Linked DNA regions of Homo sapiens: region 2 is linked to region 1. Evidence: promoter capture Hi-C in 16 types of primary human blood cells and fetal thymus (Javierre and others, 2016). All regions are on one chromosome and are shown on one strand. The core of a region is centred on a gene start or on the middle of the fragment in contact, and the rest is flanking DNA. Distances in the headings are between cores, read along the strand shown.

Region 1 (7,761 bases), core at 2,794-5,293:
TATGAATCCCCAGGGGTCTGAGGTGAGGCCAGGGCTGGGCTGGGTCACCAGGTGCTGGGTACTGGGGACTGAGCCATACCTTGTCCAAGGAGATGTGGGAGATCTGGAAACGCAGAATGATGACCCAGATGAGTCCCAGGATGAGTGTCTGGTCTCCGTCCACGATGTTCTCTGGCCCGATGAGTGGTACTGGCACCTGTGGGCACAGTTGGATGGGCTAAGCCATGAAGCCCATGTCCAGAGAGGACTCAGTCACCAAAAGCTTAGGGGGCCAGCTGCGGGATGGGAGCATCCTGGAATCTATCCTGCCCCAGCTGGGAGTTCCCTCAGGGAGAAGCAGGCAGGGGATAAGTCCAGGAAAGCAAAGGCTTCCTGCCTGGTTGGAGCCATGGCCTCAAGCCCACCTGGGTGAAGCCCCAACCTGGTGAACTGGGCTGGGCCCTCAGAGCAGGAGGACTCCCTGTGTGTGGGCTACAGGTAGACCTGGGCCAAGATCAGTGGTTCAGCTGCAGGGTTTGGAAATGAGGGGTCATAACAGTCAATGTGTGAGCCCAACAGACAATAGCAACTGTCTGCCTCCATCTCCCAGGGTGTCCTGGGATCTTCAGGGGGTGGCTGGGTCCCTGGGCTCACACCCAAATCTCAGCCCTCTTCTTCTGTTCCGGCTCCAACAGGGCCAGCTATAAATCCAGACTCCCAGGCTCCACCCAGTCAGACTGTCTTGGGCCAGAGCCTGGGAATTTGCACTTGAACAACACCTTGGGTGGCTCTTAGGTACACCAAAGTTGAGACTCCTCTGCCCTACATCCTGCCATTTGGACAGGGAGGATGGGTGAGTCAAGGGGAGAAGCCCTGCAGGATCTGGCCCCCAGCCCCCTGTGGCTCCATCTTCCACCCTGTGGAATCACATAGCTCCAAGGCCCATGGGATTCTTATAGTTCCATGGGATTCTAAGCACAGGACTTCAGGCCTTTGCAGGGCCGTGCCTGCTGTCTGAAAGTATTCTCCCAGGTATCTGCATGGCTATTCACCTCCCTGCCTTTAACTCTTCACTCAGATGTTGCCTAGCCTGACCACTTTATTTAACACAGAAACTTAAGGACTATTTCTCCCACCCAAATACACACTCTCGATCCCCTTGCCCTGCTCAAGTGAGGATCTTGGCTTTGTTTTCTGGTGTATCCTAGGGGAGTGGCACACAGCAGGCAATCGATCAGTAAGTACTGAATGGAGAAAGAAAAGGAGTGAGACTTTCCATAAGACCTGAAGGGCAACTGGCTTCAGCCGGCCACTACTAGCCCTGTGGGAGGAGCTGCAATCCTGGGTGTCCCCCTAGGTAAACTTTGGTATATCTGGCTGGCCTCTAAAGGATCCCACCCATGCTCCTGGGGTGGATTCCACCTGCCATGTCAATCACCTTGGCTTAGAGTTGGAGCCTCTGGTGAGTGGGGTGTTTGTCTGCTCCTCCCAGCTCCTGAGAGCCTATCCTCCTGACTTCCTATTGAGCGATGTCACGCTGGTGGCTTAAACTCACCGTGATGGGGGGTATTAACGCCATAGGATCAGCGAATACAGCACACTGGAGTTTTTATTTCCCCCAGAGAATCATTTGTTAAACGTTTACCAGCACACCGCTGATCTGGGTTCAATGAATCTGTCTCCCTTTGAAGCCAGGTGCCTTGAGGTGGGGGTCTGGGCTTTGCTTAGTGGAGCCCAGCGCCTGCATAGAATGCCCAGGGCATGGGAGCATCTCCATAAGCGAATGCATCCCTCATTCTGCCACACATTCCCTGTGTGTTTGCGGCAACTCCGTCATCCTTTCTAGACCACAGTTGCCTCCTATGTGTATGGAGACAAGGATGTCACCCTCACAGGTATCAGTGACATGCTGTATATTAAAGCTTGGGGAGAGCTGCAACACCTCTGACAAAGGCTGTGGGGCTTACACCCTTCCCCAGTTCCTGGAGGGGAGATGACTGGCTCACAGGGTCATTGTCCCTGGATCAACTAGGGCCCAGCATTCTGCAGCTGGCAGCGTTCTGCTCTTGCACCTGCTCAGGACAGCAGTCACTCCCATTCCCTTTGCTTGGGCTTCTCCCCTCCCTGGCTTTCCTCCAACACACCCCAGGAGGCTGGATGTAAGCTCCACTCCAGGATATAGTGATAGGCACGCACAGTCAGGCTCCATCCAGCCAGGCCCAGCTCAGTGACTTCACAGCCTCCAGGGACAGCCACCTCCAGGAGCCCTTGGCCTTCACAGTTCCCGGTTTCCAATGATCCCTTTGCCCCACCCCACCCCTGCACCAGCCCCTCACCCTGGCCATGAGGGTCCCTCTGTCCCTGGAGCTCCGGCCTCCTTTTAGTGCCCATCTCCTTAGCCTGTCCCTTTCTTTCAGGTGACTCTGCCTCCCCCCATTTGCTGAGGCCTCCTCCCTCCTTCTCCAAGACAGGCCCTGCTCCTCTTCCCCACCTGCCGTCTTAGTCCCACATCTGGGCTCTGTTGGCTGGTTAACCATCGATCTTGCCTGGTAAATAATTCAGGGCCTCTGTTTCCTCATCTGTGAAATGAAAAGCCTAAGAGAACGCTAAGATTCTTTTGGCCTAGAATCCTGTGAGTCTCTCTTATGACAGACAGTGACATTTTCCACCCCAGTAGGGACCTGGATTGCTACTGCCATGGCCAGCTGGGTGCTCTCCAAGTCAGGGGTGCTGTGCGAGGAGGGCGTGGCTTCTGCTCCTCTGTGTCCCAGCCACTCCTCCTGTACTCAGGCCCCAGCTCCTCTGTTCTGCCCAGTGGCCTGGCGCAGGAAAGGTGACCCAGTAGTTCAGCCTGTCCCAGCTGCCTGCCCCAGCACCATCCCAGACCCCTTTCCCTGGGGCCCACCTTGGCCCTGAGGAAGGCCAGAGCTCGGCTGCTGTTCTCCAGGAAGTGCACACGCAGGCGGCCCCGGCTCGGGGGTGGCAGGGCCTCCCCTGAGATGAGCTCCAGCAGCCGCAGGAGGTGGATGCCGTCAGCCAGCTCTGTGTACAGGTTCCGGATCTTGATGCCCGCCTGGGGAGGGGACAGGGGTAAGTATGGGGTCAGCCCAGCCTCACCTGTCCTCCCATCCTGGGACCTGAGAGGTACGACCCAGAGCAGCTGCTTTGGAAGAAGGAGCTCTGGCCTCAGCTTGGCCTCAGGCAGATGACCCCACAGCTCACCCCGGAGGCCCACTGGCCAGAGCTGGGGGCCTGGTATGGGTGGGCTGTGGGTCACAGCTGGCTATACTCACCTGGCCGCACTGGAAGACGTTATTGATCCACTTGGTGAAAGTCTTCTCCTGCATCTGCATGTGCCGGGCCTGTAGCTTGCGAATGTGGCCCGTCTCGTACTGAGAGTCCATGGTGAGACTTGGACTGGGCGGGACCCGGAGTTCTGTGCTGGGCCTCCTGCTGCGGTGCCCTGCAGCCCCGAGGAGCTCCCGGGGACTGTGGGGCTGACCAGCCATCAGCCCTGCAGACTTTGGGGATGAGGAGCTGCTGGATGGCTCCCTAAACCTGGAGGGCATGCAGATTAGGGGATGATGTGAATGGAGATGGCCCCTCTACCAGGGGCCTGGGGTCCCGCCTTGCCAGACTGTCCTCACATTTCATGGGGGTTGCAGCTTGGAGCCCAGCCAGGTAAGGGCCAGTGCTTCTGGTCCCCTGTGCTTGAATGGCCCAGGGCCCCCTTTGCCCCACCCCACCTTCCAGATTCTTCTTCTCAGAGCCCCTGCTGCCAGGTCCCTCCACCACAGTGACTGGGACAGGTGGAAGGAAGACAGGAAACTGCTTACCTTGGTGATGCCTGGGTCCCACAGAGACGGCTCTGCTGGACGGATGGAGATGGTAGATAGCAGGGGCTGCTTACCTTGGTGATGCCTGGGTTCCACAGAGGCGGCCCAGCTGGACGGATGGAGATGGCAGATAGCAGGGGCTGTGGAGGGAGGGAGAGGGACATCAGGAGAGGCCAAGGCTGGAGCAGGGCTGCACCACAGCCCTCCCCTTGAGCCAGCGTGCTGGGGTGACGGCACACAGGCGGCATTGTCCTCCCACCTGCCACAGGGCGTGGCCCAGACAGGGAGGGGGTGGTTCAGGAATGCTCCAGGGCCATTGCCAGATGATGTCCTCCTTCATCATCCTCCCTTCCCCGCCAGCAACTTCTCCAACTCCAGGTGGGGGTCCTGGCTCCCAGGACGCAGAGGCCCATGGAGCGGCCCTGCCACCGCATGGGGTGCTGCAGTCTGCGTAGGAGGTACCAAAGGGCAGAGCCTCTGTGGGAAGCCTGTGGACGCACTTCCCAATCTGAGACTGCCCTCTGTACCCTCTTGGGGCCTCTCTGTGAGCACCCAGGGCGAGGGGATGAGGGAGCGTCCTGGGCCGTGGTCTTCTCATTCACCCCCAGGGAACAGCCCATAGACTGAGGGCCTCACAGACCCTGGGCTTGGCTTTCCAGGCCCTGCCAGAGTGCAGCCTGCCTAGCCCGGGGCTGAAGGGTAGGCTCCCTGGAGGAAGGGGTGACCTGGAACTGCGAGGGCTGTGGAGTCTCCTCCAAAATTAGAGACACGGTGTTAACTCTGGGCTCCACAGAGCTGGCCGTGGCCCGGGGCTCGGAGGCAGGGGTGCAGAGGGAGCTGGTGGGCGCCCATCCCTTCCTCCCCGAGCAGCCGTGGACTACATGCCAGAGTGAAGGCGAGTTCTAATTCTGGGGGTCTCACCCGCCTCTGGCTAAACTCAGGGTAGCAGTGTGGGCTGGGGTGTGTGTGTGTGGGTGTCTTCCAGCGGCCCTGGAGCCTCTGAAGCGACAGCCCGCTCCTCAGGGAGGCGCTCCTGGCAGCCACAGCCCACAGCAGGACAGCCGCTCAGCGCGCCCTTGAGAGCTGGGCTAGGGATGAGTCACACTTGAACCGCCTGGGCCCACTGCAGGCAGTCAGGGGTGACGCTGAGAGGTGCCGTGGTCTCGGGTGGGGTGCGGCTTCCTGCGTCTGAGAGACGCTTCCTCTCCTGCTGTCCTCTCCCTGCCAGGCCCCTTCTGCAGCGGCTGGCTTCCAGACACCCTGCGTCCCTCCCTTGCTCGCAGCAGTTGCTGTGGCGGTCCTCCCGTGCACCCCCCCTTCTGCCCTCACTGCCCCTGGGGGTCCTCATCACGGACCCCCTAACTCGGCATCCTGGACACCACCACCCCGCACCTTTCCACAGTGCAGCTCTGCTCGTGCCTGTGAAGCCTCCCACAGCCTGGGAAGGAAAATCCAGACTTGCCAGACCTTGCCTCAGCCAGGCCTTGGAAGCCTGCCAGCTTACCTAACCAGGCTAGTCTGCCCCCCTCACTCTGGGTGCTCTCCATGGGCCACTCACCATTTCCTGAGCAGGACCAGAGCTCTCCTGCCCCAAGGCTGGGCTTCAGCTGCTCTTTCAGCTTTGAACGTCCTTTCCCATTCTCCATCATCCACATTCACCTATCCTGCCTGCCCCAGTTAAAATCCTGTTTCTTCTAGGAAGTCCCTCATCCCACCCGCTTACCCCAGGGAGACTGAGCTTGTTCCTTCTCCTAGTAAGACCCTCAGCCCATGGAGTCCTGTGTGATGTTGTGAGCGTGGGAGGACAGACTGAACTGCTCGGCCCGTGGAGTCCTGTGTGATGTTGTGAGCGGGGAGGACAGACTGAACTGCGTGGTGCTTCGCACATAGACCTCAACAGGGATTGGCATTTTGAAGCTGTTGGCGGGGGCTGTGGACTGCTTTTCTTCCTTTCTAGCTCAACGGCAGCTAAAGCCACTGCATACAATGCAAGGACTGGCTCCTGTTTGGCCACGACTGATTGCAGCCCCTGGTGAAATGAGAACCCTGTGGGTCGGAACAAAGTTTGGATTATTTATGTTGCAAGTAACTAAAATCTCAAGTGAAACTGGTTTAAACATTATATTTTTATTATTTATTTATTTATATTTAATTCTTTTTTAGAGACAGGGTCTTCTTAGGTTGCCCAGGCTGGTCTTGAACTCCTGGCCTCAACGATCTTCCCACTTCAGCCTCCTGCATTGCTGGGATTATAGGTGTGAGCCACCATGCCTGGCTTACACAGTATAAAGGGAATGCATTGGCCCACACAGTGGAAAAAAATATCTAGTAGGAATAGGAAGGACTTCAGGTGAGGTTTGATCCAGCAGCTCAAATGTTGTCACCACAGGCCTGGATTCCTCTGGCCTTTCTCAAGGTCTCTTTCATTTTCATGCTCCACAAGATGGCTTCTGCCAGGCTGACCTCCCTCCCCTGACCCCAGCAGCTCTGGACACCCCTCTCAGTGCCATTTATATTGTTGCATCAATAGGCTCATTTCTATATACTGCAAGGTTCAGAGAAGACAGAGTATCTCTCTCAAGAGTTCTAACATAAGTCTGGGGGTCCTGGCTCTCATAGGCTTGAACAGGGCCACATGTCCATTCCTGAGCCAATATTTGTGACCAAGGGGATGTGGTCAATCTCATCCAAACCTCACTTGAAGTGAGGGTGGGAGGAGGAGTGCTCTGCAAGGAGACTGTAGGTCTGGACCACCAAAAAGGTAGATGGGTTGGTGGGAAAAGCCAGATGCCTACTATGGTAGTGGGCGGGGGGAGGGCACACTGGCAAGGTACAGCAAGAGGCAGGGGCAGTGCTGGACAGGCAGGGGCTCCTCCCTAGCACGACTGGAGAAAGGACTCCTGTGAAGCGGTCACCTCCATGAGTCCCTCCTGTCCTGGCTTCCAACCACTCTGAAGTGGGGCTTTTGTCCACAGACCTGGCCTCTGCTGCCTACCCTCTTCTGTCCCCACCTGATGGGGCCGCTTTCCTTCTGAAGCGGCTGCATTTTGGGTTTCTCTCCACAGGAAGAGTTGGGGCTCACAGGCACACCCTCTCCCTAACTCTTCTCCCCCGGTTCAACCTGGATCCAGGGATCCACACTCTGCTCCGAGAGGCCAGCACGCAGCCACTGGAAAATGAGCCAGTGGGAGAGGGCAGCTCCATGTTTATTGATCAGCAGACTATGTCTTTTTGTTTGAAACTTCTAAATAAGATTACAAAAAGAAAAAAAATAGAAGCATTGCGTATTAACTGCATTGGTTAACCAACATTGGAACCCAATACTCTTGTATTAGGCCCGCATTTACCTGAGTAAACTCAGTGGTTTTCTGTCCTAAGCATGCTTGCCTGCTACATCCCATGGAGAAAATAAACAGTGAAACACTTTCCTCATCTTCAAGGCAATTGTCTCAGGCATCCTCCAGGCATCATGAAGGAGGGTGAGCGAGGGTGCGAGGTGGAAAGGTCCAGGCCGCGGCTGTGACTCCCGCGGGTGAACCACAGCTCCACAGCCCCAAATCCAAAGATGCTCTTGCTGCAGCACGACAAGTGTTCAAAAGAGAACCAGGCCCAGCCCGGAGAAAGGAAAGCCAAAAGCCAACTGAATGAATGACCCTCCCCCAGAAGAGCAACCCTGCCCCCAGGCCATCCAAGTGCGGTGAGTTGAGAAATGAATTGACAGACGCTGCAGGGCTGGAGCAGGAGGCGGAAGCAGGTTGGAAGGCTGTTGTGTGCCACCCCTCCCTGGGAGCTGGGGAGATTCCCAAGTCTTAGTGCAGTGTTTCTCTACAAACGGGGTCAGGAGACCCTCACTGGCAGGCTGACAACTTGGAAGCAGACTGTGGGAGCAATAGGCTGGAGTTTTCATTTTCCCTTTAAACTCAAGACCGGAAGGTTTGTGTTATGC
Region 2 (7,761 bases), core at 2,415-4,914, 200 kb before region 1:
GGGGGGAAATGAGAGGTGCAGTTTTAGAATTTCTGAGTCTGAGAATTTTAATTCGTCATTACTTTATGTGGAATCTTTTTTTTTTTTTTCTTTTTTGACACAGGGTCTTGCTCTGTCGCCAGGCTGGAGGCAGTGGCACAATCTCGGCTCTCTGCAACCTCCGCCTCCCGGGTTCAAGCGATTATTCTGCCTCAGCCTCTTGAGTAGCTGGGACTACTGGCATGTGCTACCACGCTGAGCTAATTTTTGTATTTTTAGTAGAGATGGGGTTTCACCATGTTGGCCAGAATGGTCTCAATCTCTTGACCTTGTGATCCGCCTGCCTCAGCCTCCCAAAGTAGTGGGATTACAGGCGTGAGCCATCGCTCCTGCCCAATTTTTTATTTCTACCATATTCTCAAGATACATTGGTACAGTTCTTAGGCTTTCAATGGATGATTGGGAGGAGGGGGAAACTAGATGTTTATGTTGTTTTTGGATGAATTATACACAATATATCTGGGTCATACGTATTTGCCTTTAACTCCCTATCTTTTATTTTGGAAGAATTAGTGGTGAATTCTTTATATTGAAAGTGAGTTTTTCAATTTTAAAGTTGGAAAATCATCTGGCAACATCATGACTATACTAAAAACCAATGAATTGTATACTCTAAAATTGCTGCAATATTATGTTTTATGTTATGTGAATTTAATCTCAAAACATACAGGAAAATATCAGCTGGCAGTTTAATGGCCCTTTCCGGTTTGTGTTGCAATTCTTAGTTGTGATGGATGTGTGTTCGCTTTACAGGGTTGTTAATCACCGTGTGGATTTTTAGAGTTTTTGAGTGTTTTTGAGGAATGGCTCAGGAAATCTGATGTGTTACTTGGATTCCTAACATCTTTTTTTTTTTTTCTCTTCAAGTCTTGTTAATGGATCATTTTGTACTTTTAAAATCCCTTTCTCCTCTCTCTCTCCAGTCTTATTGCCAGCAGTTTTGAAGATGACTCCCGTGTAGCCTCACCGTTAGACCAGAACGGAAGCTTCAATGTTGTTATTAAAGAGGAACCTCTAGATGATTATGACTACGAACTTGGTGAGTGCCCAGAAGGGGTCACTGTGAAACAGGAAGAGACAGATGAAGAGACGGATGTATACTCAAACAGTGATGATGATCCTATACTAGAGAAACAGCTAAAGAGGCACAATAAAGTTGACAACCCAGAAGCTGACCATCTATCTTCTAAATGGCTTCCAAGCAGCCCATCAGGTGTTGCTAAAGCTAAAATGTTCAAATTAGACACTGGAAAGATGCCAGTAGTCTATCTGGAGCCCTGTGCTGTCACCAGAAGCACAGTTAAGATTTCTGAACTCCCCGATAACATGCTTTCCACATCTCGAAAGGATAAATCTTCTATGTTGGCAGAATTGGAATATTTGCCTACATACATTGAAAATTCCAATGAGACTGCCTTCTGCTTAGGCAAGGAATCAGAAAATGGTCTTAGAAAACATTCACCAGATCTCAGAGTGGTACAAAAATATCCCTTACTGAAAGAGCCTCAGTGGAAATATCCTGATATATCTGACAGCATTAGCACAGAAAGAATACTCGACGATTCAAAGGATTCAGTTGGAGACTCACTTTCAGGAAAAGAGGACTTGGGCAGAAAGAGAACAACTATGCTTAAGATTGCAACAGCCGCAAAGGTAGTGAATGCTAATCAGAATGCCTCTCCAAATGTCCCTGGAAAAAGAGGAAGGCCACGAAAATTGAAACTCTGTAAGGCAGGACGACCACCTAAGAACACAGGAAAGTCTTTAATTTCTACAAAGAATACACCTGTAAGCCCTGGGAGTACCTTTCCAGATGTGAAGCCTGATCTGGAAGATGTGGATGGTGTTCTCTTTGTTTCCTTTGAATCAAAGGTAAGATTGTAATTTTCAGGATTCTTTAAGGCTAATTAGTCATACTTGAATTGTATACTGGCTTGTAAGTAACTCGATTTACAATCTAGTTTTGTGATATCTATTTGTGAGGGTGTATGGGGGGTGGAGTTGGGAGGGAAGTGTCTCCAAAATGTTTGGTTTAGTTAATAGGAATAACTTAAGATACTTCATTTGAATAGACTTAAAAAAGTATGTCTTGCTTAGATTTCAGTTTACGATTTTTGCATAGCTGTGTTTAAAAAAAGTCTTCGGGTCTTACTGGAATTTTCATCATTATGGATTTTGGAAAGGACTAAAAATACATGAAATATTTACTAACTCTTTGGTGACGCTCCATTTCTTTTACCTCCTGGTTTTCTTTTATTTTTCTTTTCTTTTTTTTTTTTTTTTGAGACAGAGTCTTGCTCTGTTGCCCAGGCTGGAGTTCAGTGGCACGATCTCAGCTCACTGCAATCTCCGTCTCCCGAGTTCAAGCCATTCTCGTGCCCCAGCCTCACGAGTAGCTGGGATTACAGGCGTGTGCCACCACACCCAGCTAATTTTTGTAATTTTGGTAGAGACGGGGTTTTGCAATGTTGGCCAGCTAATTTCTAACTTCTGGCCTCCAGCAGTCTGCCTGCTTCAGCCTCCCAAAGTGCTGGGATTACATGCATGAGCCACCGCTCCTGGCCCTGGTTTTCAGTAGTAGTAGTAGAGTACCATTGGAGAACCAAATATTAACAGTCATCTTAACTCTCCTGTCTTACACATTGAAGTCTCTGTTTATTCCACTCTGACTCTTCAACCAGATTATTTTTCTTGGAAATTTTTATAGAAGCCCAGTCTTTTTTTATTTATTTTTTGAGATGGAGTCTCGGTCTGTGGCTCATGCTGGAGTGCAGTAGCGCAATCTTGGCTCACTGCAAACTCCGCCTCCTGTGTTCTTGCCATTCCCCTGCCTCAGACTCCCGAGTAGCTGGGACTACAGGTGCTCGCCACCATGCCCGGCTAATTTTTTTTGTATTTTTAGTAGAGACGGGGTTTCACCATATTAGCCAGGATGGTCTCGATCTCCTGGCCTCGTGATCCTCCTGCCTCAGCCTCCCAAAGTGCTGGAATTACAAGCGTGAGCCACTGCCCCTGGCCTCTTTTTTTTTTTTTTTTTGAGACGGAATCTTGCTCTGTCACCAGCTGGAGTGCAGTGGCACAATCTTGGCTCACTGCAACCTCTGTTTCCCGGGTTCAAGCAGTTCCCCTGCCTCAGCCTCCCGAGTAGCTGGGACTACAGGTGTGCATCACCATGCCCAGCTATTTTTTTTATTTTAGTAGAGACAGGGTTTCACCATGTGGCCAGGATGGTCTCAATCTCCTGACCTTGTGATCCACCTGCCTCGGCCTCCCAAAGTGCTGGGATTATAGGCGTGAGCCACTGTGCCAGGCTGTCTTTCTTAATTGACTACACAGATGTTGGATATTTAATCCCTTCTACCTGTTCTTTTCCTCCCTTCTTGTTAGCTGAGTAAGCTATCTGAATATAGGCTCTGAGAAGTGAACATGCAAATTGGCGTATACTTTGAGGTCAGTTAGCTCAGTATGACATCGTATTCACATTTTTTTACTTCCCCCTTTTCCCCTTCTGATTATTAAAGTAATATTAATGTAGAACACTTAGAAAATATCAAAAAGTATGAAAAAATTGCTCCTGTTCTGCCAATGTTAGCGTAACTGTAGGCATGGAGATATTTTCCTTCTGGTCTTTAAGTTTTTTTTAATCCTGTTTTACATTTAAGTTTTCAGAAGCAATATGAACTACTATTTTTTTTTTTTTTTGATGTATAGGAAGCTCTAGACATTCATGCAGTTGATGGGACAACAGAAGAATCTTCTAGTCTCCAGGCATCAACCACAAATGACTCAGGTATTATAAAATAGTATAAAAAGAGTTGTATTTGTGGTTTGGGCTCCAGCAATGAAACATGCAACATTCATTTGTCTGTAGTGTACAGTAGCTTATTTTATTACTATTTATTTTGGGTGTAGGTTACAGAGCAAGAATTTCCCAGTTGGAAAAGGAATTGATAGAAGATTTGAAGACTTTGCGGCACAAGCAGGTGATACATCCTGGTCTTCAAGAAGGTAATAGACTAGCGACTTCTTTTTTTTTGTTTTCTTTTTTTCTTTCTTCCCTACTGTTTCTCCTCTTTTTCCTCTCTCTTTCTCATCTCTTTTTTTCTGTTTTTTCCTCTTTCTTTCTAGCCTTGATTTCATTTCTTTCAGCACGTCTTTCAGTTTGCATATTTTTCTCTTCTCTGTCTCCATAATTCTTCCCTTTAGTTTAAAAACCATGTCTAATATCTTATGTAAGAAAAAAATGTATCATGGTAAAGCAAGTGATATTTTCTTTGTTCATTCTTATAACCTGGTATTCTCCCCTTCCCGTTTCTCATCTTAATTTGGTTGCTTTTGTTTATGTGTGTGTGTGTGTGTTTGTTTGAGACGGAGTTTCGCTCTGTCGCCCAGGCGGCTGGAGTGCAGTGGTGCAATCTCTGCTCACTGCAAGCTCCGCCTCCTGGGTTCATGCCATTCTCCTGCCTCAGCCTCCCAAGTAGCTGGGACCACAGGCGCCTGCCACCGCGCCTGGCTAATTTTTTTGTATTTTTAGTAGAGACGGTTTCACCGTGTTAGCCAGGATGGTCTTGATCTCCTGACCTTGTGATCCGCCCGCCTCGGCCTCCCAATTATGTGTTTGTTTTTATAATTTTGGAGGAAGGGTCTTCCTTGTCCTTTAGTAGTATATTTAGGTGTGTAAACAGTAGAATACTTTTCTGTCTCATGTTTTGGCTGCAAACATCTATTTTATATATTTGATGTACCACTGGGAAGTTAATTTAAAATTTTCATTATCTTTTTTTTTTAAAATTTTACTTTGAGTTCTGGGATACGTGTACAGAATGTGCAGGTTACATAGTTATACATGTGCTATGGTGGTTTCCTGTACCTATCAACCTGTCATCGAGGTTTTTTTTTTTTTTTTTTTTTTTGATGCGCAGTCTCGCTCTCGCCCAGGCTGGAGTGCAGTGGCACGATCTCAGCTCACTGCAAGCTCTGCCTCCTGGGTTCACACCACTCTCCTGCCTCAGCCTCCCAAGTAGCTGGGACTACAGGCGCCTGCTACCATGCCCGGCTAATTTTTTTTGTATTTTTAGTAGAGACGGGGTTTCACTGTGTTAACCAGGATGGTCTCGATCTCCTGACCTCATGATCTGCCCGCCTCGGCCTCCCAAAGTGCTGAGATTACAGGCGTGAGCCACCGCGCCCGGCCCTGTCATCTAGGTTTTAAGCCCTGCATGCATTAGGTGTTTGTCCTAATGCTCTCCCTCCCCACCAACAGGCTCTGGTGTGTGATGTTCCCCTCCTTGCATCCATGTGTTCTCATTGTTCATCTCCCACTTACGAGTGAAAACATGCAGTGTTTGGTTTTCTGTTCCTATGTTAGTTTGCTTAGAATAATGGCTTCCAGCTTCATCCATGTCCCTGCAAAGGGCATGAACTCATTCTTTTTTATGGCTGCAGTTTTCATTTTTATCTTTATTTTATTGTAATGCATTATCTTGACCTTGATTATGTTGCTTAATCTTTAAAAAAACATATCTACTATGGTTATTAACATCATGATCACTACCAATTTTCCTGTTTTGGGGTGTAATGAAAAATTTTAGGCTGTGCCCCAATTTTTAGTTTCTTACGACTATCTTTGATTTTAGATAGGCATCTTGGAGTAGTTTTTTGAATTTTTGACTCATTAATTTTCAGAAGGGTGTCTAGACTATTTACACTATAAGTAGTTCATTTACCTGAGAGTCTAAACATTATAAGTTATCAAACAAAAGATTTATATGCTGGTCATTCCGTTTCTAAATCAAATGGTAATACTTGAAGAATTTTTGCTTTAATGGAAGGCAGCTTGTGTGACAGTGCGATCTTAAAAGTGTGCAGATCCCAGTCTCAGTCAATCAATGTGGGCTGATTGCTGTGGATTGTAATAGACAGTCACATCATAGCAATCTTGCAGATAACGTTTGCTGCTGTTTATTGTCAGCTTTAGCTTCTGCTATTTTATTTAAATAATATTATCTTATTTCTCCCTATCTTTTTTTCTCCCCTTTTCCTTTCTTCATTTCTCCCTATCTTTAACTTAACCTGTCTTCTCCCTTTTCCACTTCCATTTTTTTTGTTATTTTCTTGATAATGTAGAAATATTATGACATTTATATTGTGTTCTTTTAACTTAATCTCCCACATTTTAAAAATCTTAGTTCTAGAGTTAAATATATTCAGTGCTTGCAGCTGGTCCTTTTGCTCTGGTTTATTTGCCTAGTATTTGCTGGTTGGCTAAGCTTTGACTGTTTTTCTTTCTTTTATAGACATCTTAGTCAAATTTGTAATCGTTTCCTTAATGGAATGGGGTGTTCAAAGGCCAGTGTTTATGGAAACTGACTAGGTAACATATATAGTGAAATTAGCCTGAATTTGGGGGGTAGAGTTGGACTCTGGTCGGGTAGAGTACAGGCACTTCTTCTAAAGGGACAGCTGCATCAGTGGATTGTTGTCATATGGAAAAATGGGCCCAAAATTCTCAGGTCTGCTCATAGTTCAGTAGAAGCTGGAGTGGCTATGTGATGTCTCTGAAGTGGTGGCAGCTAATAGTTTTTTGGGCACCTAACTCAAAGCTTTAAAAACACAGCCAAACAAAAGGTGTCTGAGCTATTACTTTTCACCTTCTTTATAGATTCTACATTTGGTGCAAGTTTGTATTTAATCCTAAGGTTTTTAAAATTTATTCAACTACATGCTGACACAGTTTTGTTTTTTTGAAAAACAATTAAATCTGTAATCTGTCTGGTACTTACTTTTCAATGTGTGAAGTGGAGTCCTGTTTTGGGTTTTTTTTCCTCTATTTTATTTTAGCATATTTTTCTCCCCAACCTTGGCTTCCTTTAAAAAGCCATACTTGGGCCAGGCTCGGTGGCTCAAGTCTGTAATCCCAGCACTTTGAGAGGCCAAGGCGGGTGGATCACTTGAGGTTGGGAGTTCGAGACTAGCCTGGCCAACGTGGCGAAACTCCGTCTCTACTAAAAATACAAAAAATTAGCCAGGTGTGGTGGTGAGCACCTGCAATCCCAGCTACTTGGGAGGCTGAGGCAGGAGAATTGCTTGAAAACCCGGGAGGCGGAGCTTGCAGTGAGCCGAGATCGCGCCACCACACTCCAGCCTGGGCGACACAGTGAGACATTGTCTCAAAAAAAAAAAAAAAAGCTGGACTTAAACAGTTTCTGAAGAGTAAGTTAATTTGGCTAAATATTTGTATTAACTGGGTGATGCCAATCCCAGGGCTCTGAAGAGAATGAAAGTATTCCAGGTTCATCTCTAAAATTTGATTCTTGAAATAATTTGTTGAATTTCAACTTAATGTCATATTTCCTTGTCCTGCTATTAACTATAATTTCATTAATTAGAAAATAGCAGTTAAACTTCTTCTGAGCTGAAAACCCTTGAAAAACTAGAAAAGCTTTTTGAATTTGCTTTAAAATTGGGAAAGCAGTGTTGATTAAGCCTGGGAAAATGTTATATTGTTGTTGGTAGTTTTACTTAAAAATAAAATAAGATTCTTAATTTTTCTTTCCGTGGTACTATATTTTTGTTTGCTATATTTACTGTATCTACATTGGTCTGCTTTTTAAGTCTGTTAGCTTATCTGAAATTATCGTCTGTCTTTGCATTTTAAAAGTGTGTTTAAAGCATTTCTCCTTCATTGCTACCAAGTCAATTATTGTCAGTTTTTTATTAAAG

The links. Contacts are between HindIII fragments. The CHiCAGO score rates a contact against its expected background, and 5 or more counts as called.
Region 2: a contact is called between a fragment that was not itself captured here and the fragment with the promoter of SPTBN5 in region 1, in 6 of 17 cell types (total B cells, naive CD8 T cells, naive B cells and 3 more). The highest score is 7.4, in total B cells.

What each region holds. Positions count from the first base shown.
Region 1 is chr15:41,890,010-41,897,770 of GRCh38, forward strand. SPTBN5 (spectrin beta, non-erythrocytic 5) reads right to left here and starts at 4,044. Exons shown (of 68, transcript NM_016642.4): 1 at 3,890-4,044; 2 at 3,273-3,537; 3 at 2,885-3,052; 4 at 80-196. The coding sequence starts at 3,488. LOC105370792 (a long non-coding RNA gene) reads left to right here and starts at 2,768. Exons shown (of 4, transcript NR_135681.1): 1 at 2,768-3,069; 2 at 5,218-5,327; 3 at 5,571-7,512. It overlaps EHD4 (EH domain containing 4), which reads right to left. Exons shown (of 6, transcript NM_139265.4): 6 at 5,924-7,761. RefSeq lists enhancers at 760-1,635, 2,829-2,888. The HindIII fragment of the contact is 13,270 bases long and covers 1,900-7,761 here.
Region 2 is chr15:41,695,113-41,702,873 of GRCh38, forward strand. It overlaps MGA (MAX dimerization protein MGA), which reads left to right. Exons shown (of 24, transcript NM_001400225.1): 3 at 963-1,911; 4 at 3,751-3,829; 5 at 3,952-4,047. Among named protein-coding and RNA genes, the nearest start is that of MIR626, 7.4 kb to the left of the region's middle. The HindIII fragment of the contact is 5,283 bases long and covers 1,024-6,306 here.